4 separate regions of the Homo sapiens genome follow, and regions 1, 2 and 4 are each linked to region 3. The links are contacts of gene promoters, found by promoter capture Hi-C in blood cells and fetal thymus (Javierre and others, 2016). All regions are on one chromosome and are shown on one strand. The core of a region is centred on a gene start or on the middle of the fragment in contact, and the rest is flanking DNA. Distances in the headings are between cores, read along the strand shown.

Region 1 (7,093 bases), core at 824-3,323, 910 kb before region 3:
CACAGCAACAGTAACTTGAATGAATGTAAAATTTTCAGTTCCTAGTCTTGTCTTCTCAAAACTTTGCATATTGATCTATTGTCTTCTCATATCTGATGTTCTACATGAGGTGTCTGATTGTTTTTTTCTCTTTGATGATACACAGGTGTTCTTTTTTACATGTAGGTGTTTGTATGTGTCTTTAGTTTTCTTGATCCTATATATTCACTGATTTTCCTAGGTTTTGTTTAAATGTCAGTTGATTATTGTAAAATTTGCCTGATATGAAGAGTCTTCTTTTCGACCAAAGGGTTCTTTTATCAGATTGATGGGCGGGATTCTACTATAGCTTTCCATATTATTTTCATGTCATTTATTCTAATATTTTTAGAAAAGCAAATTATTTCTATGTTTTTACTGTTTTTTATGTTTATCATCTTTTCTCTGATGTTCTAATGATCTCTTCATATTCTTTCCTATGAAATCTAAGTGATTGTTTTCAAGGCAGTATTTATCAGTACTTTAATTTTCTGCAATGTAGATTGTGTTTTCTATTGATACTATTGAAAATTCTGCATTGGTTTTGCTTTTTAAAACTTTATCTCAGCTCTGCCTACTATCACTTTATCTCCAGCCTCTGTGTTATCATCTTTGTTTCATTTTACCATGCTTTCTTTAATTTCTTTGAGAAGCCAAAGCATTTTCTACCTAAAACTTCACTTACGTTTCCTTGAGTAAATCTTTAAAAGTATACTCTTGAGAAATCAAAATAAACTTTTAAGCCCTTCAATGGACTGAACAGACCATCCCTTGGCCAAGGACCCCAGAATAAGCTTGAAAACTGAGTTCTCAGCCATGAGAGCATGGGAGGTTAGACACGCCTCATTGTACCTCCTCCCTCTCTAACCAGGATGAGGCTTTCTTCTCTAAGGGCTGAACAGAAACCAGCCCTTTCAAGAGTCCACCACTGATATCAACCAACCAGCTGACACTGCCCCTCCTTTTCTGCCTGATAAGAGACCACCAACCACAGAACGATTCTGGTTAGTCTATGGAGAATGTGCAGTAAGGGTGTCCTTTGCTTCACCTTTTGACATAGAAGAACTGAAAATGCCACCCTTAGATGATGCTAATGCAGCCACTTTTGTACATGGGACCCACGAAGGAGCATTGAACTCCATTGCGTATGTGCACATTTCTCCTCTCATAAATATTCATAACTCCTCCTATAGTTTATTGAATATGCATATTTGTCCATCTTGTTCCTATAAATTCCTGTTCCCTTTGCCCCTTCCCAGCTTCTGGCTGAGGCTATGCTTCCTAGCCTGTCAGAATAGCCAACCTGCAGGTTGCAACACTTTATGAGAAATCAAGGTCTCCTTTCGAAATTTATAAACTTTGTCATTCTTCAGCTGATACTTTCACCTGATCTTTTCATGCTTTGTCTTCTTTTGCATTGCAGAATCCCATCATAGACTCAAAAGTGTTCTTTTTTTTTTTCTTCTTCTTCTTCTGGTTACTCATTCTTGAATAAGGACAAGCTTATCTGGGCTTAGTAGATGCCCCCAAATAATCTATGCTGTTTCTTATGGTTTCTTCCTGGTTTTCCTGGGCTCTGACAAGGCCTTCCTTTTCAAAATTAGTTTGGAATCCTGAATGAAAATTAAGAAAAAAAGTCTTTGTATTACCAATTCGGAACTTGGGTGTCTATAGTTGGAGGGGAAATGAGAGTGAGGATGTGGTATAGAGTCTCAGGAGGGCAATTTTTGCTCTGCATGTTTTTTAAAAAATCTTGGTTAAGACCCCTGCACCAGGGACCAACTTTCTGTCTCTGGCTTTCAGTTTGGCCCAATCTGTACTCCAGATACAAAGTGTGGCTATGTTTTTCTGGATCTCCCTCATGGAGGCTGTAGATTTCCTGTTGAAGCAGAGGATTCTCTCTTCCACCGGGGATCTCTCTATTTTTAAAAAGTGGTCCTCGCAGATCAGAGCAAACTGGTCGCACTGGGGAGAAAGTCCGGTCGCAGAGAAGCAGTGACCTCGTCTCCCTCCAGCACAGCTGCTCCTGAATGCTCTTCAACTGCAGCAGCTCTAGGTAAGCTGGTCCCCACCTCTCTGCAGTCTAGCATCATCTTTAGCTTTCCCTCCTTCAGATTAGGGGATTCGTCTCCATTTTTGAAAGTACCATCTCGTGTTGGAATCAGTTCTTGACTCCACTGAGAAGCTGGGTCATAAAGACGCACACTTCTCCCATGGTGTTCACTGGGTATAGCTGCTACTGTTTCTCAGAGTGCTGCTCCTGGAGACTCGAGCTGCTGTTAATCCATGGCGGTGATACTTTATTCTCTAGTGCCCTTTGGGACTTGGCCAAGCCCTCCAAAGTAAAGTCTTCTGGAATATTCTGCCAGGGTTTTCATTCCTGGGGTCGCCTTTGCTTATTCTCTGTAATATTGCTCCATTCTTTTGAAAAGAGGATTTGTGAGTCAGTCTTTGATATTATTCTAAACACACTCCATCTAAACCAAAATCATCAACTTTTGTCGTAAAGGGTTGCACAGTTCCTTAGATCCAATTCTGATGAAAGTTTTTCATTAAATTTTTTTTCTTTAGCCTTGTTCGTGGGGGTGGGGATTGGTTGTAAGCTTCCGCATATCACAGTCTTGTCAGGGATTGCAAGCTTCCTTCTTTAAAAAATTCCTTCATTCTTCTAGCAACATGTTCTAAGAAGTTAATCACAAGAGTTCTATGTGATATTTAAGAGATTTATTTAATTTTAGAGCTGAAAGGCTGTTATATAAGTAATCTAGGTTGGAAGCAAGTACTATGATTGATTTGCTCTCCTCTTATAGATGAGATATATGCAGTCTGGACAGTAAGGTCAGGTATAGTGCTTGTGAATACTCAATACTCAAGCTCAAGCATCCAGATGCTCTCTCTGGCTCTTCTTGCCTCACAACCTTTGACTAAGATCAAATATGTACACATTTTCTGTGGATCAAATAAGAAATTATCCATTTTGTCAATATCTTATATTCTTGATTGTATTTGAAAGATTAAAATAAAACTATAGTAAATTCAAAATGATCATTATATACCTATGTCTAATAAAAATGATCAAATAAAAAAGGATAGAATAGTAAGACCTAAATTGTCTGATTATGTTTATGCTTTGCTCTCTATGGTGATTGCCTGTGGATCACACATCACCAAACATAGATTTTCTAGGTTACAGTATTGATGTACAGCAAATTAGCTTATGCTTGATTTCCATAGTTGTTGTTACTTAGTCACCTCCCCTCAAGGCTTCTTTGCCGGATGTTCCAGCATTAGAGGTAGAATTCATGTCTGCCAGTTGTTCAAATAGACTTTTCTTTCTGGAGACATCTGCTTGCCTGTCACAGTGTTCTTGCGTGAAACTTCTGTACCTGCTGCTTGTCTGTGGTTTGGCTGAAGTATTGCATTGTAATTCAAACCTGTGCATACAGAAAATGCTCTGAAATGCTACATTTTACAATTATCTTATTTAACCTTGCAGCATATAGCCACGATGGCTACTCTTTGTCTCTTTAAACTCGACTTTTCTGATTTCCCTGATATCTTTAAGGTTCAAAAAGAGCGTATGATTCTGGAATCATACTGTCTGAGTTCACTTCTGCATCAGTTAGCTATTCCCTCAAAAATGCTGTGTAACAAAATAACCATATACTCTTCATGGAATACAATAATAAGAATTTATTTCTCATATGTCAGAACATCAGCTGGGATGGTTCAGCCAGATTTAGTCACGTGGATCAGCTGGGGATCTGCTAGGTGAGTGTACCTCAAGCTGCAGATCCAGCTAGCTGCAGATAAAACTCAGGTAAACTCCCTGCATAATCATTCTAGGAACCAGGCTGAGGACGCAGCAAGCTTGGTGTGATGCCAGAAACACAAGAGAGCAAGTGGAAGCCTGGCATACCTCTTAAGTCCTAGTTTGAAACAGGTACGTTGTTATCTCTGCCCACATTCCTTTTGTCTATAAAACTCAAATGACCAAGCTCAAAGTCAGTCAAGGGGTGAGGAAGTACACCATGCCTCCGGTAAGAGGGACCGCAAAGTCACATGGCAAAAGGTGTGAATACAGGGAGTTGTGAAGTGGAGCCAATAGTTTCATCCATAGAACCCCAACAGGACAATCCTCAATTCTGTGGATTAGGCAAATTACTTGCTGTTTCTGACTTATGTCTGTTTAAGAGAGATCATAATTCCTATCTCACAGGGTTGCTGTGATAACTAGGAGAAAAATGCATATGAAAAGATTAACACAGAAAGTGCCAATAAATGATAGGTGATTTTGGTAGTGGTGTTACTTCCTGCTTTTCTTCCCACCCCTCTGAACATGTCCCTTGCAAGCTGCTCTTCTCTGGCCTGATTCTTACATATAGTTGCTTCCCAGGATTCCAATCAGAGTCCTCCTCCCTTCTCAGAACTCAGGTAAGCTCCCTGCATAATCATTCTAGGAACCAGGCTGAGGAGGCAGCAAGTCTTCCTCCCTTCTCACACGCTGCCTGGGTGATCACTTTTGTATCCATAATAATTCATGCTAGAAAACCATGCTGATTATCTCAAACCTCTTTCCCACACTTATGTATGAAGTCTCTAGGCATATATCTTGGGTTCTATCTTCCCTCCTTGTTTTAATTTTCCTGCCATAGCAGTTTTCCTGGAATTAGAGCAGCACCTATAATCCCAGCTCCCTGTGCTGAAATAGGCAGCACCTAAATGATGTACCTTAAGGGGCCTAAGAAGCAACTGAGCGAAGAGCTCCCTCCTTTGCTTGCCCGTGAGAGAAATAAAAACAATCACTCTTTAAATCTATCGAGGGCTTTATTATTTTTCACATGCATGAGCTGACTTTAGCCTCCCTATACCTGCTCTGAATGAGATATTTTATTTCCATATTAAAGTCAGTTATTTGTATGAGTGGGGACTGCTTAAAATTCCCTTTAAAATGCAAACATATCAAGGAGAAGCAGCAAGACAGAAGCCCACTTTCTACCCAGCACCACAAATCAATGCAGATTGGTTTATCAGGTTAATTTAGCGGAATGATTCAGACAGGGAATAGAAGATGGACTGCTGCATTTTGAGGTGAAGGGACGTGGAGGCTAAGAGCTGTGCCCCGGGAAATCTGGGGTGGGGAAGCAGTAAGAATGAACAGATGCTGGGAAACACAGCAGGGGGAACAGCAAAACCCTTTCTCATAAATGCTGTTGAGAGCCAGTTCTGCCAATCAGTGTTTCCCAAAGAGGAGCTTGGAAGCCTCTGAATATTTCTAGAGGCAGCCTCGGTAGTTGTTTCTATGATTGTCAACAGAAATCAAGAAGGAAGAGTTAAGGGACCAAAACTGACAAAAACAATTTTTAAAAATCTGTTTTTTTGTTGTTGTTGTTATTTTTTTAATCCCAAGTAGCTGGAATTACAGGCATGCGCCACCACTCCCAGCTAGTTTTTGTGTTTTTAGTAGAGATGGGGTTTCACCATGTTGACCAGGCTGGCCTTAAACTCCTGACCTCAAATGATCCACCCACCTTGGCCTCCCAAAGTGCTGGGATTACAGGCATGAGCCACCACGCCCAGCCAAAAAATCTGATTTCTTAAGGAGCAATTAAAGAAACAATTACTGAAGAGGATGACTAAAACTTGATGTTTAGAGAACTATTAAAGAATTTCTTTTTAAAAAGCACTGTGGAGCCTAAGGAGAAAGAGATTATTTGTTAAAAATAAAAATGGGAGCTGACATAGTGTAGCCCCAATTCAGGAATACTCATGGCAAAGATAGAGTTCTGAAGGAGAGTTGGAGGGGTGTGGAGGAGCGGCCAGTGTGTCTCCCTGAGCCCAAGTTTCCTGTCTAATGACAAAAACACAAGTCTCTCTCGTTATCCTAGCATAGGCTGATGTTGGCTGCCTGAACTAAGCAAATGGCCTTCCTGAGAACCCGATTAGAAACAGCTTGTATTTTCTTCTACTCGTAAGGTCTTGAAGAGGATTTAGCAGACATATTCCATCAATGTGCTCTGTAGAATTCCACCTTGTAACCTGAAACCTGTTCACTAAGTTTCATGAGGTTACGGTTTATACTGAAAGGAAAAAAGGGGAGTCCTTCTGAAAAGGACATAGAGACTATTTTTATGACCTCAGGATAGGGAAAGGTATGTTAAACAATATAGAAATCACAAACCATAGATGAAAAGAATGACTACATTAAAAACAGTAATATTTTTAAAAGAAGGTACATTATAAAATTCAATTTTTTGATCAGCTTTGGCAGAAAATAGCATTATAAAACATAGGTCTACAAAATATCTTGTTGCATGGAATTTATAAATTAAGTTGGAATTACTATGTCAATAATACTGACTCTTTACATCCATGAATATGATATAGCTCTTCCTTTACATAGGTATTTGTTTACATTTTTTAAAGCTTAACATTATTCTTAATAAGCTCTTGCATGTTTTATTAGATGTATTTATTCCTAGGTATATAATAAATTTTGGGGGCCCAGGGCGGTGGCTCATGTCTGTAATCCAAGCACTTTGGGAAGCCAAAGCAGGAGAGTCAGGGATTTGAGGTCAGGGATTTGAGACCAGCTTGGGCAACATATTGAGAACCTCATCTCTACAAAATAAAAATAAAAAATTAGCTGGGTGTGATGGCGCATGCCTGTAGTCCCACCTGCTCAGCGAGGCTGAGCCAGGAGGATCTTTTGAGCCCGCGAGTTTAGGGCTTCATTGAGCAATGATTGCACCACTGCACTCCAGCCTGGGCAACCAAGAGAGAGGCTATCTATGAAAAAAATCAAATCAAATAAAATAATATTTGTCACTATTGTAGCAATCCTTTTTATTTATTTTCTGTCACTGGTATATAGGAATTCAATTGTATATTTATCTATGTCTATACATCTAGTATTTTTAGTTCTAGTAATTTCTTCATAGGTTCTTTTAGATTATTCCACAAACCGATTGTCTGTAAATAATATCTTTCCATGGTAAATAATGAGGGTTGCCTCTATAACCATTTTTGTGATCCTTATGATAGCTTCTAATTTTGTTCACTAAAGCCAGATATT
Region 2 (6,538 bases), core at 1,138-3,637, 930 kb before region 3:
ATAAGCTGTGAGAGTGAATTATACAAGTTACCATTATAATAAATTATTTATTACTGAATCACATAAATGCTTTATATATAAAAATGAATTATAAATTTATTTAAATGTACTAACACATTGAAAAGATGCAATTTAAGGGTTCATGATAACACAAATTTGCAAAACTCATGATATTGAAAGCTGTTGTTACAATGAAGTTCATTAGATTTCAGGACAGGTAAAACAATTTAGTTTCAATCTTTAAAAATATTGTGTACTCAGCACTAGCATACAGACCAAAAGAATGCAAAATCTTCTTTTCTGGATTATTTTAGATAAGAATTGATAACCTGAAAGTAGAATAATGATTTATTTATGAGTTGGAGACAAAAATACCTTTAATATGGTCTTCACTTCCCTTGCTAGATTAATCTGCTGAAATAAATACATACCACTTGCAAAGTGAAACTTGGATTAATTGAGTTCATATTAATAGAAAGATGATATACCAACTTCTATTTAACTGCCAGAGTTCTACGCACATTCTAAATTTTTCTATCAGGCTTCAGTGGTAATATCTATAGAATAAGTTTACCAAGTTTTTAAAATAGCTGGAGATAGGATGAGCAAAATGATATTATTAATAATAATGATTTAAAAAGTGAAAGAAAGAATCCTAATAAAGACAATGCAACCATAAATGTGTTGACAACACGATCAAAAATTGAAATTATTCAAGATAACAATTTCTTTGTTATGCTTTGAATTTTTCAAGGTTTTAGAAAGATGTCTGGAGTCAAGTGATATTTACCAATATGAATACTGATTCACCTAAGAGGTAAGCTTCAGATTCCGCAGGCATCAGGAACACATAGTGAGTACTACTGGTTTGTGGAATTGGCTGATATCACATCCTGGTATGGATAACTATTCTATGACAGTTAGGACCCAAGCCTCATTGCCACTGAAAGGAAAGGAGAAGCCTAAAAGAGTGGGAAGCCAAGTTCAAACACAAAGGTCAAAAGTATTGTGATTAGAATATATTAAATATCTCCAAAGCCCAATGGCTGAATAGAGCCTTTTTCATATTTAGAGGCACTGTTTGAGGTTTTCTCTATTTCTTTAGTCAAAGGAAAAGATCTGTGTAGTAACTAAAGGTCTTTAGTAAGTGTCTAGATGGGTATAGTTCAAGAAATGTGCTAAGCATATTTCTTGTGTTATGGCATGAAGCCTTTACAACAGCCTTGTGAAGCACATGCTGTTGTTAGAATTACATTTTCACAGATAAGAAAATCAAGTCTCAGGAAAGGAAAATTAATTTACTCAGTCACACAGCTAAAAATGACAGAGACTGACATCCTGGTCTACATGAATCTCAAATCCAAGCTCTTCACCACTATTTATAATGCCTCTAGTGAAGTGGCTACTCTAACCATCATCTCAAATATGAGCCCTAGAACTGAGTCTGTATTTGCACCTTATATGGTATCTAAATCTACTAGGAAGTTTAAAAATACCAAATGAGGTACGTTTAGACAGAACCTGAGGACAGCTGTGTTCCCCCACCTCTCTTGAGTAATTTTGCCTGTTCTGCAAGTCTGGTTCATTCCTCAACAGCTCTCAGTGTGCTCCCTGACCCACCCCACTGGGTCTGTGTCCCTCCTCTCTGCTTCTTTCATTGGTAGTGCATATGTTAGGACAGAATTGATTATTTTTTATTGCAATTGTCCTCTCGCACTATGTCATTCCCCCATATTATCAGCAGGGTCACTGAGGGTAGGTTAGAGCCTTGGAGAAAAAGAAATTTGGGGCCTCAGAAAAGACAGATTTGTACTGACATAAGTCAACTGCCATGTATTTTTATGCCTTCCCCAACATCCTTCTCACCTCCCCACAAATTTTAAGGAGGAATTTTAAAAATTCAAGCACTCTCTTTCCTCTGTGTTTCCACCATCTAAGATAGTATCTGGTATATATACCAGCAGGCAGCACATTTTGGTTCAACTGGTAAATATGATAATGGTATGTTTTAGATAGGTCTATAAGTCTGGAATAAGAGTAAATTTATTCTATACCATTGACTCAAGTTTCTCATGATCACTAAAACAAATTTGGCGGTGATTTTGTAATTGATCATTTCCTGTATAGATGTAATAGCATAGCAAGGTAGTTTCAAGCACTGTGTCTTAGTAGTATTATCTGTGAAATGAGGGTAATAATAGCATTTTTTCCTTAGATTTGTTAAAAGGATTACATGAACTAAATATTGTAAACTTTTTAGCATAGTGACTGACACATAGTAAGTAACAAATACATAAATATTAAGTAAAATTTGGATGAAGTCTGTTTTTCTACTAGACTGTAAGTTCTGTTATAGTAGGAACTGGAGTTGTGCCTGTTAGTGCTCATAATTTTGTTATGAGTACCTAGAAAAGACCTTCAGTAGGTATTGATTAAATAAATAGCCTTAAAAAACACACACGGTGTTACTTAAATCAAAACTTGTATTTTTTTATTGTGTAAATTTTCTAGCACGTCCTCAATGACGCCACTGCCCATCTAATATACTTTGAATTTCACTTGGATACAGTGTTAATGAGAACAGGCTGCTAAAAAGCAATTACATTCAGATATTCATGAATGTTTAGGAGAGAGAGCATGAGGCCATGACGGGAGGTGGAAAAGAAAAGACTAGGACAAATTTGAGACTTCCTGTGATGAAGAGAAGAGGCAGGGAGCATGCTGGCACACTCAAAGGGTTTAGCTGAAGAGAGTTTCATGAATAAACTCTACTCCTTGCAGAGGTGTGGCTGAATTAAGGGAAGGAGCAATGGATGGTGAAGCTCTCAGGAAATGGCAACAGTGGAAAACTATTAGCATGGGGTGGGATGGGGAGTGGGAGGCAAGTGGAAGCAGTGTTATTGGATCCCAAGAGAGCTGGAGACCTGGAGACACAGAGGTGAGACCACCTGAGAGTTCAAAAGGTATAATCCTAGAAAACCACCAAATCCAGCAAACAGGCAAGCAGGGAGATGTGAGTGGTGGGCTTGGGAATCAATACCTCTATCTCTCTTTTACTTCCAGCCTTTTCATCTCTCATTGGTCAAACCCAACAAGAAGGACAAGGAGACCTGGATTACACAATCAGAAAAGGTGAGCCCTTTGGAGCTGGAAGCAGGGCATAGAATGATGGAAGGTGGATCTGGAGGGGTAAGGACCAGCACAGCAGACACAATCTCAGTAATTGATAGGGTTAGGTAGGGGAAGCAGAGCTGAAGTATAGGGTGATGCTAGTGCCAGTAATTAAGGTAGAAAAGCAAATGCTTTGTCCCAGGGCCTTGAAATTCAGAGAACACAAAGACTTTAAATAATGATTTGTAAAAACAGATTAAATTGTGAAGTCATCACCCTCAGTAAATTTATCATTTTGATGACTGGGCCCCATACAGAGTGGTGGGTTTGTGCTCTGCACAGAGGTGCTCCACTAAGGAGGTAGGTGAGGGTTGACATCCTGCCCTCATTTGTGCTCTAATTCACCCTCCTAGAGTTAGCAGCACTTCGTAATTTGCACAAAAGTGCCACAAAAACAAGCTGCAAAAAATTGGCAATTTGCTCTGGCTCCTAAAGCTGATGAATAAGCCCAGAGATTCGAGGTCAAGTCTGAAATGAATAAAGGCATCAGTATACCCTTCAGTCTACTCATACTTGTAATAGTATTTATATAGAATAGACTGTCAGAAGTGGAATTCTTAATCAAATGATAGGTTTATTCATTTTTTTAATAGACTGGGGCCAATATATGGACTTAAAAGTTTTCCAATAAGTCTATTATTTTGACTTTGACTCTAGTGTAGCCTAGAGTAACTTATCAACTGTTACCTTGCCTTGATTTTCGATTAATAATTGATATCAACAACAACAGTTCATTTCCCAGCTTTATAACTGCTGGGTTTAAGAGATCTTCAAAGCTTTACGCTTGGTACATGTCCTTCTAAGGATAGGTTAGTATTCCAAATCTCCAGATGAATTTAAAATTACACTAGTTATGGGGAAAGGAATGTTTGAAATTGGTTCTTCTCAGGTTTCCTGGGCATTGGACATACATCCATTACATTTCCAAAAGGTAGAGGAAAAAGAGATGAATGGACAAGAGTCTTTATTCTACTCACTCAGGCCACAATTTAAAGACCACAAAAAAGAAAGAAAAAATATTACTTTGACTTCTTCCAAACTATAAGAGTAGGTATTTTTCACATTTGTTTATACATTCTCTTCTCAGTAGAACATGGGCTTTCCTTCCAAGCTGCTGGAGCTGAGATTTTCCAAAGTAGAAATTTGTAGTCAGGGAGCAGAATATCGAATAACGCATAAAAAAGGATCTTTCTGGTTGAGTTTCTTTTATATAGCTTGCAAAAACGGATTTGAGCACATGTATGTCTGTTCTTGGCTTAGTTTATATAATCAAAAGATTATTGAAAGAAAAGCCATTTTGGCTTGCTCATCTGTCTAGATGGCATTACATCTTATGGAAATGTCTGGTACAGGTCTTCAATTCCTTTCCTCCAATTCTGAAATTCAAAAGATCTGAAAAAATGAAAAGATTTTTGTAACTTGTTCGGTGACAAAACCTTATTTGGCCTGAATCATTTGGCAGTAAATGTTGACATGAATTGACACAGGTCTATTTATAATGTTTTTTCATTCCTCTCAGAGTGAATATTAGCATATTTTAATGTAGTAGTGTGGTAATTATAAGATGATGCCCTAGACCTCTGATGGATCACTGCTGAGGATTCTTTGTAATATTTGGTAGATGCAATATATTGTGATTCAAAAATTCTACAAAATCACATAGTACAAAAACATCTGGCTCTCAAATTGTCAGATGCTTAGTGTTAGCTGTCGGGCTGCAGGCCAGTGTTGATAGGAGACATAATTATCAACCAAAGTCTAGCTTCTTTCTCAAAGAAGAATTGAAATGCCTGTGTTTTTTTTTTCTTGTGTCTCTTATAATGGATCTCTTTCTTATATGCTAAACATAATAGATGTTCAGTGTATACTGCTGATTTAATGATAATTGGGCAATATAGCTGGAAGCAAGAAAGATGAGGCATGAATGGGATAAACGAAAATGTGGAGAGAAAAAGATATATCTCTAAGGTGACAGAAGCGGAATAAATTTTCCAGAAGAGTAAGGTTTTGAGGAGGTAGAATTCTAAGAGGTGAGGCTTCCAAATGTAAGGTCTTTTAAAGATGCTCTTTCTTGCAGAGAAAACTAAAAATGATTTTTTTATCCTGTGCTTAATATTAGTCCAGGATACCTGTAATGTATTAAATACATTGTTTTCTTAAGGATGAAATAATTGAGCTACCTAAAATAACTAAAATCAATTAATCAGATAGCAATAATTTAAATCATTCTAGCTGAGTACAATATTCATAATTTAGTTTAATCTTCACAAAAATCATATGAGGAAGTATTGTTTTTCCCATTTTAAAGATGAGGAAGTTTCTAGATAAGTCAAATAACTAGTTCAAAGTAATATAATAGTAAATAGCGACAGAACATTCAGCCCAAGCCGAGCTCAGATACTTTGTGTTTAATTTACTGTATTGCACTTGATTCTGTCACACTATGAAATTCGTGGTTAAAAAAAAGTGGACAGTCCTTTGAATAATATAATACAGTATAATATGTGCTGGGTTTCATGTCTCATGAGGACTTAGTTAAGAGTTATCAGAAAAAAAAAAGATTGTTCAAACAGGACACATGCAGTGAACAGAAAGTCCTAAAACAGTGCTTACACAAATAGGAATTTATGTTTCTCACAAAACAAAAGGTCTGGAGGTGGGTTGTTCTCAGCATTAATTTAGTGGATTAAGGATGTCAGGTTGAATTTTTGTGATTTCTTGGCTTTTCCCCTATGGTCCAAATTTTCTGCTGCAGTTCTAGCTTTTATGTCTCCACTCAAGGTAAGAAGAAAGGGTTGGTGGGAGATAGAGCAGCTATGATTTCTCTTTTATCAGGAAAAAAAAGGTCTCCTTAAAGTGGGGAAGCCCAGCAGTTGCCTAATTATGTGGTCTCATGGCTGCCCTTAGGCGAGGGGGGGAGAGAAAGTGAAAAGCAATGTTGTGATAATTAGATCAGTCCAATAATAGCCCATCATTGAGGGCATGAGTCAGTCCACTTGCAAAGGGCCACTTAGTAAGTATTTTAGACTTTGCAGTTTAGATGTCTCTGTAGCAGCTACTCAACTGTTGCAGTGGAAAAGGAGCCCAAAAACAATATGTAAATAAGTTAGTTCCTCTGTGTCCAAAAAAGAAAAAAAAGAAACTTTGTTTACAAAAACAAGCAAGGGAAGGTCAGCATGGTGGCTCATGTCTGTAATCCCAGTACTTTGTGAGGCCAAGTTGGGCAAATTGCTTGAGCCCACAAGTTCAAGACCAGCCTGGGCAACGTGGTGAGACCCTATCTCTACAAAAAATACAAAAATTAACCATGCGTAGTGGTGTGCATCTGTAGTCTCAGATACTTGGTAGGCTGAGGTGGAGGAATAAC
Region 3 (6,855 bases), core at 3,160-5,659:
CAAGGCATTTCCAAAGGTTCATCCACCACACACAGGAATCTGTTCTTCCTCTTAACAACTTTGTTTACAGGTCAATTGAAATAGCCAAAAGCTGATCTATGGCATATTTTAAAAGTTAGTTAGGAAGAAGTGCCATAAAATCTACGTTAGGCCCTTTATCCATCGGGGGGAGCGCTATTGCCCTGTGGAGTGAAAGCTGGTTTTGTTCACAGACAGTGGGCTCACACCAGATAGGGGCTGGGAGCTGTGGTCAACTGCACCAATGAAAAGATTCTTATGCTAATATTTTCCTTCCAAATGCATCCTGGAACTGGTCAAGACGTACCTCACCAAAGCCACTTTTTCCTCCTTTCTGCCCATGCCTGCCTCAGGAAATAGGTGAGTCAGGTTTTACTTGAGGAAGTGTTTGTTGTATTTCTGATTTTTCATGCCATTTTTTACATAGTTCTATATATTCAAACAAACAGAAAATCACAATAAGCTCTATCAGTAATTATTATTGGTGGATTTACTATTTGTAAGAAATATTAAAGCCATATGTTGAGACTTCTCCAGAGAGAAGTAACGGTAATTATCTTTACCATTTTATCTCTCTTTTCCAGAGAGATAAACATGGTATCTTACAAACTGCAAATAATCTCCAGAGAGATTATTTGGTATCGTAAGATACCATGTTTAAGCCATTTCATCAATATGAAATATAAACCTTAGGCAGTATTTAACCACAAAATAAATAAGCTTTTTAACTTTTAAGAAGTGGTCAGCTATATCTAGCTATGAATGAACAGATGAGTATATAATGAAAACAAATCACACTGCTTACAACATTCATGTATCTATTTCTGAAACACATTACAAATCTCCACTAAGAGCAGAGTACAGTTGAAAGAGATTCTCAGAGCATCACCACACTAGAGAGGTAGACGTGTGCAAAATCAGCCAAGGATAGAAGGAAAGAGGGTGTGGTACACAAGGAAGGAACCAAGTGAAGACAGAGAGGCAGGCAGCTGACCTCCATGTACTAAATTGCATCCCTAGGGGGGAGGCTGAACGAGGCCTCATTAAAATGCATAATCTCAGCAGTTCAGTTAAACAGATGAGAGCCTAGACAGGAGATGATCACTAAGACAGGGCCTCCATGACCCATGGGTAAGAGCCTCTTCTTAGATCTCATGTACTACGGAGAGAAAGCAACACCCAATTCTGGAGTTCCTCTTCCTTCCACATGCCTGTGAAGATTCAGACTCTTGTTGTAAGCCTCTAAACTCTTGCTGATTCTGTGTAGAGACCTAGTTCCAAATACATAGTTGATTCTCTGATTTCATCCAAGTTGTTGGTGCTGCTGTAATACTGCCTCCGTTGGCTGCTGGCAGCCTCCTAGTTCCAAACACATAATTGATTCTCTGGTTTCATCCAAGCTGTGATGCTCATGCCTGCAATATTACCTCCACTGGCCAGTGACAGCCTCCTGCCCATCCTCTGAGACTCAGCCCAGGGGTCATCTCCTTTGGCCTCTCCTTCTCTTTGCCCTGACCTCAGGTTCAGGGGCCCCTCATTCCACCTCTATGTCTCCCTGAGCTCCTTCTCTCATCTCCCGTGTTGTATACCTGTTATCTGTGTATTTGGGAGTGACATTCAAGATCTTTAACAACTGGAACAGCGCTGGCAGAGCCCTATCAGAACATAAGCCGGCTGTATCATACCAGTGCCAAACGGCCACCTGTCGGCCTGGGGTAAGGTGACTTTCACCCACAAGACAGTGAACTCTTTAAAAATAGGGCTGTGTTTTATTCATTGATATATCACCAGTGCCCAGAACATAGGAGATGTTTAATAAATGTTTGCGGATTGCTTGAAAAGTCTAAGGTTGACAAAGACAAGGCAAGGAGACACGGTAGCTTCCACCAGTTGTCTTCATATTTAATGCCCATACTTAAACCTCACTCTAGTTTCGTGTATCTGCATGATAGTCAAACTAGGCAAAATGTAAAAGAAAAAGAATATTCTGGGCTTCCATGAGTGAACCTTGAAGGGCCCTAAAGGTTTAGGTAATTAATTAAACATTTGTAAATTCTGGTCAGTTACAAAGTCTGTTACCTCCAAGAACAGTACTCCCTACTCACAGCTTCCAGAGCCCAGTATTTGTAAACCCATCTTTCTATGTTTTACTCAACACAAATTCTTACTACTTTTTAAAAATTTAACCAACTCAACAGATGACATTTTTAATGGCTGTTGAATTGTGATAAGCACCTCTTGCATTATTGAGAGTTAATTAGAAGAGCATAAGCTTATTTTAAGAATACATAACTGATGAAATTTGCTCCTGGGACACCGGAATTAAAGCAGGCTAGACAGTCTCTAGCAAAATCACACATCAGCCACACTCTCAAGGCATCAGTTATGCTGTGTGGACTCAGTACCAAATATCCCTTAGTTGAAGGTGATTCTAAGGACAGCACTCTAGTAAGTGTAGGATCTAAGGCTGCACTTGGTACTATGTGGGCTCCTCCACTAACATTTCCACCAACTTGGCTTTGTTTTATATTCCAGACCGGAGCATTCATAAATGGGGACTTGTGCTAAATACAATGTGTATTTCATTTTTTCCATTTTGTAAAATGTGCATGTAGTTTGTTATGGGATTTTAAAAAATTCCCAGAAGCACCATCCTATAGCAATAAAATGTTGTTTTAATCAAAAGCTTGGTTGTACTACATAACAAGGAAGTTCATAAAACCATTCAGTGTGAAGGTTTTTAACACTGTTGAAGAAGGAATTTTGCAGTTACAGAAAAGATTAAAGGAAAGGACTGTTTTGGTGAGCCCTAAAGCAAAACCATGGATCTTGTGATGAAACATACATTCTGCCATGACTGATTGTCACCAGAAAGGTTTTGAAGGCATATTACAGCACTGGATAAAATAAATCTATATCAAGCTATAGACAAAGAAGAGGGCTGGATGCTCACAGCTTGATGCTACACCATGACTCTCCAAGAGGCTCACTGGGCAAAGACTCAGGTTAGTTCTCCTGGCCTTGAGCTGGAGGGTGTTTTTTGTCCAGTAAATAGGGGCTGTGCTACCTCTTACAAAGCAAGCTTTATTGGGTAAATGAATGAATGATGAACCCAAATAAAGATTATTTTGGAGAACTCAGATGTAGACATGGAAAATTTCTTTGCTTTACAAGAGCTCACAAAGATAATTATATTCTATTCGCCTAACACATAGGGGAGCAGAAGTAATGAGCTTTCTTAAATGCTATTTCTCTGTAACACATTGCTGATGTCCTACATTTTACCATCATACACATCTTTTCAGGTAGTCTGTATTTCTATATGAAACATGGAACCCAAACAAATTGTTGCTATGAAGTGATCAGGGTGTAATATATCTTGAAATGGAAGGAAAGCTAGTATAATTCTAATTGTATAGATTTTAATAACTACATAGAGGTTTAATGTTATAATATAGTATATGTATCTTGAAGATCAAAATGTTTTAAGGATTAGTTTAAATATATAATTTTTCAAATTTGTCTTATCACTTCATTTTGTCCATTGTTGCAGAACTCAAGAGTTGTTGCAAATAAATAAATTTTTATAACCTGCATCTTAATAAATCATGCAAAATAGTTGACATTCAGTCATTATACAATTAACATGGACCCAATGAACCTGGTTCTATGAACAATGTCTAGACACAGTAAATGTTTAATGAAATTTGGTTGTTAGAAATTTATATCAGAAAAAAGTATCTATATGGGTTAACTTTAGCAATCATTCTATTCCTTTCGCTTGATCTCTGATGGATTAGAAGTCTATTAAATATCTCTACATTTTGCTTGACACAAGTGCATTGTAATTACAGCCATCAGGCCATCCTTAGCCATTTATTATTTTCATTTACTAAAACAGTCTCTACGATGATGACACCCTGTGGGATTAGGAATCTAATGGAAACAAAAATCTTGAAAAAGTGAAGATTGCAGGGTAAGACCCCTCATCAGAACAGTATCTTAAGAATGAAAAGGTAAGCTAGTGTAGGAAAAGTGAATCCTCAGGGACGCTAAGGAGGGAGCCTTCCTCCCAGCAGTGTTGCCATACCTAGCACCAGCTTTCTTTCATCTTGCTTTTATATCCCCCACTGCATCATCATAGTTATCTAGAGACCTCACCAGGCAGGCTGACGGTCATGTGTGGGTTGCCTAATTACAGGAACCTGAGATTTGACCACTTGGCAGCCAATTTTCTCTTTATGTAGAAAGATCTAATTGTTTATGTAATCATCACCATCATTAATACCTCAGAGATGACCTCATCCAGAAATGCTGGGAACTGGTGGAGTAGGACATGGGCGGAGTCAGTGTGTTCCTTTAAATACCTGTGGTCCCGGTGCAGCCTCCCGTGTCTGAAAGCATTTCTGGAGTGTTTTAGGCCTGTTCACTTTCTCTTACTCACTGTCTATTCACTTGTCCTGTTCACTCGTCTGGAAGATCTCAGCCAGCACCATGACTGACAATGAGCTGTCTGCCTTGGTAGTGGATAATGGGTCAGGGATGTGCAAGGCAGGCTTTGGTGGTGACGATGCCCCCCGGGCTGTGTTCCCCTCCATGATAGGGCGTCCTCGACACCAGGGCGTTATGGTAGGCATGGGCCAGAAGGACTGCTACGTGGGAGATGAGGCTCAGAGCAAGAGAGGCGTCCTGACCCTGAAGTATCCTATCGAGCATGGAGTGGTCACCAACTGGGACGATATGGAAAAGATCTGGTACCACACATTCTACAATGAGCTCCGTGTGGCACCAGATGAGCATCCCATCCTCCTCACCGAGGCACCCCTGAACCCCAAGATCAACCGGGAAAAGATGACTCAGATCATGTTCGAGGCTTTCAACACACCAGCCATGTATGTCGCCATCCAGGCTGTGCTGTCCCTCTATGCCTCAGGACGGACCACAGGCATCGTGATGGATTCTGGGGATGGGGTCACTCACATCGTGCCCATCTATGAAGGTTATGCCCTGCCTCATGCCATTCTACGCCTGGATCTGGCAGGGAGAGACCTGACTGATTACCTCATGAAGATCCTGACAGAGCGAGGCTATAACTTCACCACCACTGCTGAGCGGGAGATTGTGCGAGATGTCAAAGAGAAGCTGTGCTACGTAGCCCTGGACTTTGAGCAGGAGATGGTCAGGGCAGCCGCATCCTCCTCACCGGAACGGAGCTATGAACTTCCTGATGGGCAGGTGATCACCATTGGGAATGAACGCTTCCGATGCCCTGAAGCCATTTTCCAGCCTTCCTTTCTGGGCATTGAGTCCAGTGGGATCCATGAGACAACCTTCAACTCTATCATGAAGTGCGATGTGGATATTCGCAAGGATCTCTATGCCAACACCGTGTTATCTGGAGGGAGCACCATGTACCCAGGCATTGCTGACAGGATGCAGAAAGAAATCATAACCCTGGCACCCAGCACCATGAAAATCAAGATCATAGCTCCCCCAGAGCGGAAGTATTCTGTTTGGATTGGGGGCTCCATCCTTGCCAGCCTGTCCACATTCCAGCAGATGTGGATCAGTAAGCAGGAATATGATGAGGCTGGTCCTCCTATCGTTCACAGAAAATGTTTCTGAATGGGCTTCCATATTAGTGGGCTTACATTTTCCCTTTTCCTAGGTCACAGTGATGGTACTGCTTTTATCCGCTTTCAGTAGAATCGAGGTAAATACGTCACTCTTCCTAGTGTAAACCAGCAAACCCATCTCTCCATCCAAGTAACCTGGGCTCTTACCCAGATAACCACATCCGGTTCTCCATCAAGTGAAGGTGAATTCTAATACCATATTCCTTTTTCTTTGCCTATACTGTTCAAAGATAGGTAGGCCAGCTTAAATACATATAAGTGACAAGGAGTAAAATCACGAGAAATGTCATTTCAGAATGGATAACTATAATTATCAAGCTTTAAAACTTAGTTCTCGCTAAAATATTTAACAAGAACAGGCTGTATAAACTTGTTTAAAAAAAAAAGGTGCGTATGCATTTAGCAGCCGTGTCTTACTAGTTAAGTATCTTTGTTTTGTTTACTTCTTTGTATGGAGATAATGAATTATAAAGTTCAATAATATCCATATATACATAAGCACCAGGGAAATAAAATATATTGTGAAATATGCTGATGTATCTAGCTATCTGAACAGCTAATGTGAATTTCTTTACTCCCAAAAGTCATCGTTGTACTAGGTACATATTTTAATTGTTTCCCTTACTAAATAAGCATAATGAGACAGCCACCATTCCATTAATGTTTATAAATCATCTAAATTTTCAGCTCATAGTGGAGTTCTGCTGGTCAAATTATATTTTAATATCTTTCTTACTGAACCTTCTCATACCAAAACTACAGACAATGTCTAATTCTTAAGAGAGATAGATATTATAATATCAAATTAATGTCATTATGGTACAATTTGACAGAGGTAATTTTATTTCTATTTCTTAGTGTAATAGCACATCTTAAATAATTTCTGTAGACCAGGATTACAGATACTTCTCTTGTGCAAGGATTTCACTGTGGGAAAATATAGCTGCAGCATCTTTATTAATTATACATTTTACTACCAGTATACTAACACAGTTTTATCCTTGGAAAGCTTTTAGAATAATTCTACTTTATTATGTCCAGTAACTAGCAATACTTATTTATGCAAAGTGTCTCTGAGATACTAACATCTTTGAAAATATCAATGTATGTTCCTATAATGTCTAAAATATTTTAGTTACTCCAGTGATGATTTATTAACCAATTTTAAGTACCAGTATGTTTATTCCAATCTATGCAGTGA
Region 4 (6,598 bases), core at 2,974-5,473, 960 kb before region 3:
AACCACAAAACCTCATTTGCAATCTGTTTTCCTGGGAATTTGTGTTTGTAGATGAATGTCAATACAATTTTCTGATACAAGCATGTAATTTTATTCCAGTAATATTCTTTTGAGAACATGACATGAGTAGAAATGAAAGGCAAAGATGGAATCCATGTAGAGAATAAGGCAAACCTTTAGAGCTGAGATTGTATATTGCCAGAGAATAGACATCTGCTTGAAGTACAGCGAGTTTTAGAGTGGGTTTTAAAATATTTTCCAGCAATTGTCATCAGTTAGTCATTGGGAGCATTCAGATGAAAATTAAAACTTCTGACTTCCTTTGCAAAACTTCATGATCAGACAATATGATCAGACATTTCTACATATCAACAATCAGCTGGAGCTGAGAAGTGCCTGCCCCCAGAGAAGAGACAGCCCTCTCCATGGACCTTGCTTGCCTGATTCACTCAGCTGGTGCCTCAGACGTTTGAATGTGAGCCTAGTGCAGAGTCAGGTGAAACTTTCAGGGGGCCTGTCTATTTCCAAGTTGTTTACAAACGCTGATTTTAATTCCAGAAAGTGTACTTTGGGTGATTTTAGGGAAAGTGTGGGCTTCATCCAAAGCTACCTTCTGCCATTTTTAAGCATTATTGGTTTAAGTGGAGTTAAAGGTCAGGTACTAAATCGGGCTTGGGGCACGGAAGTACTGGATAGAGAAAGGCAGGTCCCTGGCCCATGTGTGATTTGACTCTTTTGGCTAGGGCTCCATATCTAGGCCTGTGCCCACGGACTGAGGAGAGGACAGACATTTCTGTTTTCCTGCCCAAATGTCACATTTCTCAAGACCACCCTAGCCCACCACACCCCTATCCTGTGCCTATAAAAACCCCGAGACCCTAGAGGGTACACACACAAGCACCTGGATGTGGAGAGAAACACACGGGCGGAAGAAGACACAAGCAGCTGGATATTGAGAGGAACGCACCCGGAAGATCACATCAACAGGCACCAGCAGAGGCTTGCAGGCCATCCATCCGCAGAACGATGAGGAGTTTGGCCGGGTGGTCAGAGGAGGGCCACTGAATGGCCCGACTCCAGGGGATGACCACCTTCCTACTCCATCTCCCTTCTGGCTCCCCCATCTGCTGAGAGCTACTTCCACTCAACCCTTGCACTCTTTCTCCAAGCCCATGTGTGATTTGACTCTTTTGGTACACCAAGGCAAGAAACCCCAGGATACAGAAAGCCCTCTGTCCTTGCTGAGAGGTGAAGCCAGCTGGACTTCCTGGGTCGGGTGGGGACTTGGAGAACTTTCCTGTGTAGCTAGAGGATTGTAAATGCACCAATCAGAGCTCTGAGTCTAGCTAAAGTATTGTAAATGCACCAGTCAGCACTCTGTAAAAACGCACCAATCAGCGCTCTGTGTCTAGCTAAATGATTGTAAATGCACCAATCAGTGCTCTGTAAAAACGCACCAATCAGCCCTCTGTAAAATGGACCAATCAGCAGGAAGTGGGCGGGGCCAAATAAAGGCATAAAAGTTGGCCACCTGAGCCAGCAGCGGCAACCTGCTCGCGTCCCATTCCACGCTGTGGAAGCTTTGTTCTTTCCCTCTTCACAGTAAATCTTGCTGCTGCTCAGTCTTTAGGTCTGCACTACCTTTATGAGCTGTAACACTCATGGCGAGGATCTGCGGCTTCATTCCTGAGATCAGCAAATCCACAAATCCAGCTGGAGGAAGAAACTCTGAACACATCTGAAGGAACAAACTCCGGACACACCATCTTTAAGAGCTGTAACACTCACCGTGAAGGTCCACAGCTTCATTCTTGAAGTCAGCGAGACCAAGAACCCACTGGAAGGAATAAATTCCGGACACATTGCCATAAGTCAGGGGGTCTGATTGAGCTGCTAAACACAAGCCACCTACAGATGGCAAAACTAAAAGAGCACATGGTAACACATGCCTGCGGGAGCTTCCGGTGCTGTAAACATTCACCCCTAGATGCTGCTGTGAGTTCAGAGCCCCAGAGCCTGTCTGCATGTTCCCCCTAGAGATTTGACCAAAGAAGCAGGACACACCCCCACCGCACACCCTGCAAGGGTGACGAGGGAACTTTTCCTGTTTCGGTAGCACTGAAAAGAAATGGAAGAATAAGTCTGACAAATAAAGACCTACCAAAGTTTTCATAAGCCAAGGCATCCACCGCGATGTAGACGGCTTCTTTTCTTCCTGAATTTTCACCTGATCGACATAAGGTTATTAAATTCAACTCATATCATTCTCTTAAATTCATAATGAAATTTAGGATAAAGGTGAATTTTGCAGTTTAGTCAACTAGGAACAAGAGATCATCCCTCACTTAATTGTATTGTTGGTTGAAATATAAATTTCATTAGCAGTTGCCATAATCTATCCTCATTTCCTTTGTTAGGCTTGTGAATAGACTCACTTTACTGATTCTGAAATACCTGGACTATGTGAGCTTATGTGGCTAATCTCTTCATTCTTTTTACCACATGGGGAGAGAGAATAAGATAATCATCTGAGGCAAAGCAACATATATGGGTGGCAAAAGGGCAGCTATAGCAGCAAGTTGCACCTGCTACATATGGATTTAACCTCATGAATTCTTTAATGAGGCAAACCTTTCATGTTTCTATTCACTATCCTGTAGGTATACCTGGCAGTTTTGCTACAGAGTGACTCAGGATTAAACTCCAAATATCCTCAATATAGATTAGTCATAGGGAAGGGCCAGTGACTGACAATAGGCACAAGAGAAGCACTAGGCTTTTTGGTTTTAAATAAATAATATACTCTGAGTTGAAGCAATTAAATCTTCCTCCAAATACAACTTTCTACCTAGATATTAAAGAAACAGAATAACAGTTGAGTTTTGTAGAATCTGATATATTTCTCTCAGATTTTTTCTCCTTCAGAGGTACACACACATATGCTTATTTTAAGTCAATCATCCTACAATTGCTCAAGTTAAAACCATATAGCAGAAAACATTTGGAATTTCAATTAGATATGTCAAGATTGAAGCAACTGGGTCAATTGCTTGCTGAACAATCATGAACATGACACTGATCCTATTTTTTATATTATAAAACAAATATAATAATAAAAAGTGTCTTAGAATTCATTAGATAGAACAATATAATATTGAGAGTATTTGACCATTTTGACCTACAACAAAAACCATTTCTTATTCGAAAATATAGCAAGAGGAGAAATTAGAAAGTAAGCTTCCTCCCCTCTCTAATTATTTTAATATTATATCTTTATTATTTCTCTATTCATATTACCTCTTTGTTTTATATTGATGTCAGTAGTTATTGATATTTATGTCATATTATACTGTTGTCATTCAATAAAGAGAATATCTTATACTTAATTTATCATTAGAATTTTTCAATTATTAATTGTTTCCTTCATCATGCTCCTGGGGGAATCAAATTGAGGAATATCCCAAAGAGAGAGCAATTTACTCTTTTTTCCTTTTTTTTTTTTCAAGATGGAGTCGCGCTCTGTCACCCAGACTGGAGTGCAGTGGCACGATCTTGGCTCACTGTAGCCTCTGTCTCCTGAGTCCAGGCAATTCTTGTGCCTCAGCCTCCTGAGTGTCTGGGATTACAGATGCATGTCACCACAACCAGCTAAATTTTGTATTTTTAGTAGAGACAGGGTTTCGCCATGTTGGCTAGGCTGGCGTGGAACTCCTGACCTCAGGTGATCCAACCGCCTCAGCCTCCCAAAGTGCTGGGATTACAGGCATGAGCCACCACACCCAGCCAGTTTACTCTCTTATGACTGACAAAATCAAAGGTAAGTCATATAAACATTTCCTACATTTTGACTCCTTTTATGTTGCCTTTTCTTATTATTGTCCCTTCTCAACTATCTTTAAAAAATTTCCCCAACTGTATTTTCAGGAATTCCAAATATCTTTGATATTATAAAATGTTTCCTGAAAAACATATTAACTGGCAAATTCTTTTGGGAATTGGTGGCTTCAATAAAATGAACAGATTTCTTTAAGTCAAGATTTTTCTAGAACTTCCATATCCTAAATTTGCGTTATGAATCTCCAAGAGAGAAATAGAGTGCAAAAGTTTTTCCAAACTTATACACACTGACACATTATTTTGCTTTAGAGTGCCTTTTAAGATCACAAAGAATATTCCCTGGAACATAGTTTGTCGATATATGTAAGTAATTGTCCTTTATAAGATACATTTAATTTAAAAAGATCCTGAACCTGTCAGATAGATTGGAATGTAAGTTCAGATCTTTCTTGTAGTAGGACAATAATTAGGTAAACAGGAAATTTAGCACCAACTTTGACATCATATATCTTAGTCTGTTTTGCATTTCTATATTGGGATATTACAGACTGGGTAATTTTTAAAGAAAAGGAAGTTATTTCTTACAGTTCTGGAGGCTGGGGAGTCCAAGAGCATGGAGCTAGCATCTGGTGAGAATCTTCATTCTGTGTCATAAGATGCGGAAGGCATCACATGGTGAGAGAGCAAGAGCATGTATATAAGCTCAGGTCTCTCTTCCTCTTCTTTAAAGCAATCAGTTTCATCATGGGGTCCCATCCTGATGACCTTATCTAATCCTAATTACCTCCCAAAGTCCCCACCTCTAATTAACATATGAATTTTAGGTTTCCAACCATGAAATTTGGGGGATGTATTCAAACCATTGCATTGTGGTTCCAGAGCTGTTACATGTTTTATCCACAACCTCACTCAGCAAGAAAATCTCCCTTCTAGAGGGAGAAATTTATGGTGCAGAGATCAACTGGATGGCCAGGTAGCTAAGGTAACTTTGCAATGTAGATATTCCATCTCCAGATCATAAAGAGTGGTTTCCAGTTGCCTTTTGCAAATTTCTATTTTCTTATAATGGCAGAACTGAAATGTTTTAAAATAAATTTTTGTCCATGTCCACTTTGGTTTGCAAAAGGCATTTTGTGTTTAAAAGAGAGCATGTTGGTAGTCCTTTACACTGAACAGGACAGATGTAGAAGCTATAAAGACTTCTTCATAAACCACTTTTGGGGAAGAACCTAACAAACAAAGCATGAGGATATATCACACTGAGTACATTAGAGCAAGACTTTTACACTTGTTCTTTGCCAAAAGGCCAAGAAGTGATTAAAGCAAGATTTTTTAAGTTAAAATTTAATATAGTTGTAGAAGAGTAAGCTTCAATTGATTTACTTTAATGGCATGAAGAAAGGAGTTATTCCTCCTCTATGTCCAAAAGTGACATAGAAACAAAATTTGGTAGGAAAATCAAGAAATCTTAATTGAATAATTTTTAAACAGTTTATTATACAAAATTATAAAGCATAACTTTACAGTTATGCTTTATTCAATTCAACTGAGATGCATCCTTCAATATCCACTACATGGTTTGGAACATGTTAAGCTTGCTATTGATAAAACAGTCCGTTTTTTTTTTTTCTCACAGTACTGAACAGCTGTGTACTGCCAAAGGCACAGTGCATATATACGGATGGTGACTACACAGTTTACCTGGGAAACTCTTAATCATGCCTTGTGTCAGTTAAAAATCTTTGTATTTGGCTGGGATTGGTGGTTTACTGCATAATATCAGCACTTTGGGAGGCTGAGGTGGAAGGTTTGCTTGAGCCTAGAAGTTCAAAACCAGCCTGGGCAACATAGCGAGATGCTGTCTCTCCAAAAAAAAAAAAAAAAAAAAAAAAAAATTACCTGAGTGTGCAACTGGTGTGTCAGGAGCCTGAGGTGAGAGGATTGCTTGAGTCCAGGAGGTGAAGGCTGCAGTGAGCCAAGATCACACCATTTTACTGCAGTTTGGAGGACAGAGAGAGATCCCATCTCAAAAAAAGTATGCATTTCTAAGATGAATTATATGGTTATCCCATGAAATACTCATTGCTATCCCATGTGAGTTTAATGTAGCTAAGATGCATTTAGCATGACCCACTTATGTTACCACACCTTTGATTTCAATTGCTTTTCCTATAAAGGTAGGTTAAATTTTTTTCATGCTATAAGCATTTATGACCTTATTTTTAGGCTTTATTAAGCACAACAGCAGAAAAATGAATTCGGGCTATGTACATTTATTCAGATCCTACTACACATTATATTATTTTTTTACTTTATCTGCTTTGTTGACCACTATGACTGTGGTGGTAAAAATTGTTAATGACAGTCAGTGACACAAGGTACCATCTGGTTTATGAGAATGAAAGAAATGTATTTAAGCAGGATATGGTTTCTCTAATCACCAATCTTTTGCAGACTGACTCATAATCAATTACCTGTCATTTCAACTTGGAAGTATATGGTTTGTTGTATTACATCGCAACGTTATTTCATCCTGGCTTCAGAGAGGAAGGACTGAAATAGAAATATGAAATCTTTGTTTCAAATAAAAGTGATTTGCTACAATTTTGGCAGACATAACTGGAAAAACAATTTGAGAGGAAAAATGAATGAATTTGAAGTGTGCTCTGGCAATAATAGGTCTCATTCATTATAAAATACTTAAAATGTGCTGTGATGTGGTGGTGAAACTCTGACAGAGTTTAAATATAGCCACACTAGC

The links. The method cuts DNA at HindIII sites, captures the fragments that hold promoters and counts their contacts. A CHiCAGO score of 5 or more calls a contact.
Region 1: a fragment that was not itself captured here is called in contact with the fragment with the promoter of ACTBL2 in region 3 in 1 of 17 cell types (total CD4 T cells); the score reaches 5.8 in total CD4 T cells.
Region 2: a contact is called between a fragment that was not itself captured here and the fragment with the promoter of ACTBL2 in region 3, in 1 of 17 cell types (fetal thymus). The highest score is 5.2, in fetal thymus.
Region 4: a contact is called between a fragment that was not itself captured here and the fragment with the promoter of ACTBL2 in region 3, in 8 of 17 cell types (M2 macrophages, naive CD4 T cells, naive CD8 T cells and 5 more). The highest score is 8.7, in M2 macrophages.

What each region holds. Positions count from the first base shown.
Region 1 is chr5:58,390,720-58,397,812 of GRCh38, reverse strand. LOC105378984 (a long non-coding RNA gene) reads left to right here. Exons shown (of 3, transcript XR_948352.2): 2 at 3,865-3,961. Among named protein-coding and RNA genes, the nearest start is that of PLK2, 66 kb to the left of the region's middle. The HindIII fragment of the contact is 1,101 bases long and covers 1,523-2,623 here.
Region 2 is chr5:58,412,711-58,419,248 of GRCh38, reverse strand. No RefSeq gene overlaps it. Among named protein-coding and RNA genes, the nearest start is that of PLK2, 44 kb to the left of the region's middle. The HindIII fragment of the contact is 3,125 bases long and covers 825-3,949 here.
Region 3 is chr5:57,480,365-57,487,219 of GRCh38, reverse strand. ACTBL2 (actin beta like 2) reads left to right here and starts at 4,409. Exons shown (of 1, transcript NM_001017992.4): 1 at 4,409-6,855. The coding sequence starts at 4,513. The coding sequence ends at 5,643. The region is part of intron 1 of RMEL3 (enriched in melanoma 3); the gene reads right to left. The HindIII fragment of the contact is 2,872 bases long and covers 3,103-5,974 here.
Region 4 is chr5:58,441,099-58,447,696 of GRCh38, reverse strand. No RefSeq gene overlaps it. Among named protein-coding and RNA genes, the nearest start is that of PLK2, 16 kb to the left of the region's middle. RefSeq lists an enhancer at 985-2,184. The HindIII fragment of the contact is 1,968 bases long and covers 3,240-5,207 here.